Linked DNA regions of Homo sapiens: region 1 is linked to region 2. The links are contacts of gene promoters, found by promoter capture Hi-C in human tissues and cell types (Jung and others, 2019). All regions are on one chromosome and are shown on one strand. Each heading gives the region's core, a stretch centred on a gene start or on the middle of the fragment in contact. The rest is flanking DNA. Distances are from core to core; before and after follow the strand shown. Region 1 overlaps CDIN1 (CDAN1 interacting nuclease 1). Region 2 holds the start of MEIS2 (Meis homeobox 2).

Region 1 (3,075 bases), core at 387-2,886, 420 kb after region 2:
GTGTTGTGAGAGCCTAGTTCTCTCCCCACTTAAAACACACACACAAACAGACTCTGCAACTGAACAGCTGGATGGATATGGAAACTGCTGCTGGCAATACTCCCAAGGTACACCAGGAGCTTTGCCTCTTCATGTGGCTGCCCCAGGGGCTGAACTCCAAGACAGCAAAGCCTAAATACCAATTAGTATTTCATCTTTTCTTCCAATGATGGTTTAACGCCTTTGGATATCATGGTCACTAAAGTCCCAAGCTACATCTCCACAGGGGTTGACCTGCCAGTGTCTTTCCTGAACAATTTCCATATTGCCAGTGGCCTGCAGGAGCCTACTTGCCCTTGCAGTTGGAACTACTCCTCAAGAATTCTAAGCACTAGCCCACTGGCTCTCCCACTGCATAAAAGTGAAATCTAAAGCAGTTTGATCTCATTTGACAATCTGAATAAGAAATATCTTTTAACATTAGGGAATCCTATAGGGACAAATTAAATTATTCTCTCCAACTAGCACATAATCATGTAAGAAATAACTTAGACTAGAGCTATCAAATATAAAAGTATTATGTAAGGACAAGAGGAAGATATCTCCAAAGCATGAGTGTTCAGACTGATCGGAACCTTGTCTCAGGCAACTTGCAGCCTTATAGCCGCTATATGCCACCAATCCTTATCCAACAAGCACACATTCAACAAACATTGAGAAAGCACCTGGTTAATGCTATGAATATACTGAATTCTTCTCCACACTCACACACACAACTTCCAAATCTGGAATTTTTTTTCCTGACTTTCCTTTGGCTAAAACTTTGAGGCCTGGTTCAATGTTTACCTCCTCCATTAAAGCCTTCTCTTATTTTTTTCCAATCCACTTGCCTTCCTCTCCCTCATATTGTGGAATGGAGAGAACTCATATTGTGTATCAATCATTGGGCACTTGATTAAATGTCACTTTGTCAACTGATGACAAGAGATTGATCAGGATGCTGAAATGTTAAATCATGCCACATTAAAAAGGTGTCAATATTTTCTTAATATTGTCTTTAAGTATCTGGGGGTTTTCACATGGAAGTAGATTGAGGCTCATCATGTGGTCACCCCTAAGAAGACAAGAAAGAAATCTCACAAGTTTATTATTGGTGGTGAGGCTACAAGGTTTCAGATTTCAAGCTTGGATTTATGTGGCCCTTATTTAGTCTAAACAGATGATTCTTAACCTTTTCTTTTATTCATTAGGACCCACCTCAGAAGACTTCTTATTTTTTCTTACTTGCTCCCCCCATGAAATTTTAATGCCACAGATATGCTGCATATCTGTTTACACAATCTCACCCCCTTTGAGAATGCATGGTTCACATGGAGGATTAAGGAATTGTTTTTGTCAGGGTATTTGGCAAGCTGCTTAAAAGCAGAAAGCTTATTTGTTACCACTCCAAAGCCACTTTGCACAAAATAGCTACTCAACAAACTGCTGAATAAATACATTTATGAACACACTGCCAAAGGAAAGAGAAGACTACTCTTTCTCATAGGATACAATGGATCTTGAGGTAAACCGTGAAAACATCTAATGACTCATCTCCCAAAGAGGACTGCTTATCACTGGTATAGGTATGTGAAGTGACCTTACTAGCACACATTTTTGTTGTTGTTGTTAACAGTTATATAGTACTTTTATAAATAGTTTAAACTTACGGTAAGAGATTCCATGGTATTACCTCCTCCCTCCTGGATTTTCCTCCAATTCATATATTAGCAATTAAAGTTTCAAGCTAGTGCTCCATGCAGAGCAAATATAGGGCCACATAATGAAGGGAAGCCCTCTTCTGGGCTCACTGGGGCCCAACATGAGAGGTGAGATACAGGTAAAGCGAAAACTCCCATTCAAGATCAGAGGAGAAAGTTCATGGCAGCAAAGACCTACCGAAATTTACTGGGGTATCCAGAAAGCCTGATGAGATCAAATGTCTTATAGTCTATGAAAAGAAAGAAAACTGGATGCTTCTAAAGGTGATACCACAGTGGCTACTGGTATGACCAAGTCTGTATTATTCAATGAGACAAGGGCAAGTCTCTGCTTTGCAAGTTGATGACTTCAAGAAGCCTCTCTAATAATTCCCTCTGGTAGCCTGCTCATTTATGTCTCTTGTGTTTCCAATTGCTGGCAAAGGCCCATACAACATCATGGTGTCTGCCTCAGTGCATAATTAGAAAGCAGTTAATTCTAAGTCATTAAAAATGTTGCCCAGGATTGGAAGTATTCAAGGAAAGGGGGCACAAAAGTGTGTTCTTTTTCGGCAGGCTCCCGAATCTAACGGGAAAGAACAACCTAAACTTTATATCTTAAATTGTAGGAGAGGGATAGGTAGGTGAGCAGAGGCGAAATTTCAAGGCATGTTAAACGATATGAAAATTCAAACACTTTTAGTATGCTGAAAGAAACATTTCCTGGGAACTAAACCCATGTGACTAATTACAGCCAGGGACAGTGCTTCTATTCAGAAATAACTTTCGTCTAATTCTCCTGAGAAAAATCTCAACAACTTTCAAGGAAAACACCGCTATTCAATTTCTGCCCATTATCCAACACAGAGATCTATCTTTCTTGCACTTTATTAGGTACCAAAAAAAAAGTCAAAATTCTATGTGTCAAACAACCTATGCAACGAAGGCGAGGTACAGGTCAGCTTCATTTTAAGGAGAGACAAATACCATAAAAATATCCTACCAGGTTAACATATTTTTGCAGCGGTTTCAAGATTCTCTTGAGTTTTCAAGAAAGCTTACATTTTGGTCCCTCAAGCAAATGAGCTATTCATTTAAATGAACAAGTTAGTAGCCTGATCTAAAAATAGTTGTACAATTAACAGTGTACTATATAATTAAAATCCGTATATCATTAAATGATGCGGATGTTAACTTCACTATGAATTCTTTATGTAATGAGACAGTTAAAAGATACATTTCTTCAGTTGTAATTAATCTTTCAGCAAGGCCGCTGAGCACAATGGCAGCACAATGCTGTGCCAAAGTGAGAGATAGAGTTTACAAAAAGACATGCTGCAAACTCTTGGGGCTCTGG
Region 2 (2,792 bases), core at 238-2,737:
GGTTAGACGCGGCTCGCGGAAGACACTACTCTCCACTTCTCAGAATGGGTTCAAAGTTGGGGAGGGATGCGGCTGTTGGAGAACAACAGTCCGCTTTCCACTCTCTGGGCCAGGGACTGGGAGGGCGAGAGCGAGAAGTTGGGGAGAGGACGCGCTTCCAGCGCCTGTCCGCCCGGCCGCGCCACAAGGGGCCGAGGGGCATGGGGGCTGCTGGGCGGCAAGGCTTGCGCGGGGTGACCGTGGCTCCGCCCCCAACTCCGGGCTCGTAGTGATTGACGCGCGGCCGCCGGGAAACCAGCCGCGCAGAGGTGAAGCCTGGTGCAGCTCGGGCCAGGGAGGACAGGGCACCGGCCACAACTAGTTTCCACCCAAACGGTGTGGGGTAGTTCCCTTCGTTTCCTTTTCCTTTTTGGAAAAGTTCTTTCGGAGCTGGCCCCATCTCCCTGACCCCGCGAAATCGCCCCTGTGTAATTAACACAGCCATTAGCAGGCGTTACCGCGGCCCGCCGCTGCGCCTCGGGCGACCACAACAAAGCTGGGCTGTGAGCGCCGGCCACTCCTCCTCGCCCGGCAACTTCTTTCTCCCCCACTCTCTCCGTCTTTTCCTCCTGTGCTTCCCAGCTCTGAGTGAGATCCACTTTGGAGACGCACACTAGTCGCGCGCGCGCACGGGCGCGCGGGCGCGCGCGCGCACACACACACACACACACACACACACACACACACACACACGCCTTTGGCTACATCGGACCCAGATGACTGCCTCCTCACTTCCTCCCTCCCGATTCCGCCGCGGCCCCCAAAGACTCTCGGGGTGGCCCCTTGTCCGCACCGCTTGGAGGGAGTGTGCTCTGAGTTAAGCTGGTCTCTTCTGGTCCTGGAAAAAAATGAGTATTGACAAGGTTGCTGGATCTGCGCAGAAAAGAAAGTGCCACTTAATAAAAAATTTAGCCCGGCAGTGGTACCGTCTGCAGAGCTTGCTGCCCTTGGACGTTAGCAGGAAGCCTTCGGGGTGCTGTAATCGGCGGGCAGAGGAGAGGGAGGCCGCGGAATTAAAAGGAACAAAAGCTAGAGCGCCATGCCAAACGTCCCCGGCAAGACCCAGTTAGGCAGGAGCCGGGAGTGATGGGAAAATGAACTAGAAGTAAGTTTTTTTTTTTTTTTAAATGAAAAGATCTGAGGCGGTACCGTACTTTCCCTGTGGTTTTCTGCAGTTTTCCTCTCTGCGCTCTCCCTGTCCTCTTCTCTCTCCCCCTCTCCCTCTCTCCCTGTTCGCGCGCGCGCGCGCGCAACACACACGCGCGCACGCACACACATACACACACACTCACACACACAGACACACTCTCCTTTTCCTCCCCCCCGCCGTCCCCCATCCCCGTGGAGGAGCAGGCTTGCTGATTTGCTCGGGTCCGCCCGGCTCGAGCCTCCCCTCCCCCTCCCGCCCCCCCGCCTCCCCCACCCCCCCAGCCGGGGCTGTCCGATCGCACTCGTTGCATATCAGAGGCTCGGCGCGGCGCGCTCCTCCTCGCTCCCGCTCCCCACTCCCGGGATGTGTCTCCGCCGTACGACGGGCTATGGCCACCACGACTTCCGGGTTCCGTCATTTCGTTCTCCCGCCGCCGACCCGCGCCGCCAAACTGAGGCTCTTCAATAAGCCAGGCAGCAGCCAACCTGCCAACACCTACTGACACTCACTCATCTCCCAGAGAGAGAAAGAGAGCGAGAGAGAGCGAGCGCGAGAGAGCGAGCGCGAGTGAGAGCGAGCGAGCGAGCGAGAAAGAGAGAGAGGGAGAGACAAAATACCTACCAGGAAAGGGGGGGAGGAAGTCCAATTTTTGCAAACTATTCATTTTTTTTTCTTGATTTTTCTCACTGCTTTCTTTGAACAATACTTTAAAGAGAGAGGATCGTATTATAGATACCGCGGGGGCAAAGCTAAAAAAGGGGGGAGGGGGGAGGAAAAAATTCAAGAAGCAGAAACCCCTCGCGGAGTTTTACTGGAAGAAAAAAACGGGTCTGAAAGATTCCTCCTCTTCATCATCATCAACCATCATTCATTCACTACCTTGACATTCCGGGCTTTGATTGACAGCTGGAGTGGCAAAAAGCCATGAAACACGACAGTTCGGTTACATGTGGGCTGCTGACGGGCCGCTCGTAACCTTCAGTTCGGGGGCTTGACAATTTTTTTCTTCTTTTTCTTCTTTTTCTTTTCTTTCTTTTTTTTTCCAACTGAGGGGAAGAGAAGAGAAAGAGGGGGAAAGGAGGACCGAAGAGGAGGAGGAGGGGAGGGGGGAGGAGGAGGAGGTGGAGGAGGAGGAGGAAGATCAGGAGGAGGAGGAAGAAGAGGAAAAAAGAGAAAAAGAAGAAATATCACAGAAAAAAAAATTCTTCGTTGTCTAGACTGGGCTTTTTTTCCCCCCTAAAAAATAGCATATTGGAGAATTGGGAGAAGTCTCTTTGGTTTGGAAAAAAAAAAAAGGAATCTTCAGCCTAGATCACTTTCTTATCCGGACTGGGATATTAAATATACGACACATCCAGGAGTTTATTGGAGCGCAGACTGATGGCGCAAAGGGTAGGTTTAAATCTCCAACACTTACCTAGATATAAATCCTCTCCTAAGAGGGGCCTGTCCCGATGCCTCCTCTCCCTTCAACGCTTCTGCTGCTGCTCGCTGCTTGATGATGGCGGCCAGTATTTTAAAAAATAGCAAAATTATTCATCGGCTTCTTTCCCTCCCGTGCCTCTGCGTGTGTGCGAGTGTGTGTGCGTGCGTGTGTGCGTGT

The links. The method cuts DNA at HindIII sites, captures the fragments that hold promoters and counts their contacts. A contact is called where the count stands out against the background at its distance.
Region 1: a contact is called between a fragment that was not itself captured here and the fragment with the promoter of MEIS2 in region 2, in 1 of the 25 tissues and cell types used here (heart left ventricle).

What each region holds. Positions count from the first base shown.
Region 1 is chr15:36,675,501-36,678,575 of GRCh38, reverse strand. The region is part of intron 5 of CDIN1 (CDAN1 interacting nuclease 1); the gene reads right to left. It overlaps LOC124903466 (a long non-coding RNA gene), which reads left to right. Exons shown (of 3, transcript XR_007064582.1): 1 at 1-3,075. Among named protein-coding and RNA genes, the nearest start is that of CDIN1, 97 kb to the right of the region's middle. The HindIII fragment of the contact is 3,601 bases long and covers 1-3,075 here.
Region 2 is chr15:37,099,244-37,102,035 of GRCh38, reverse strand. It overlaps MEIS2 (Meis homeobox 2), which reads left to right and starts at 1,487. Exons shown (of 12, transcript NM_170675.5): 1 at 1,487-2,581. The coding sequence starts at 2,570. LOC124903465 (a long non-coding RNA gene) reads right to left here and starts at 2,788. Exons shown (of 2, transcript XR_007064581.1): 1 at 2,607-2,788; 2 at 1-2,235. RefSeq lists silencers at 117-256, 2,706-2,765 and enhancers at 957-1,236, 1,487-1,646. The HindIII fragment of the contact is 11,980 bases long and covers 1-2,792 here.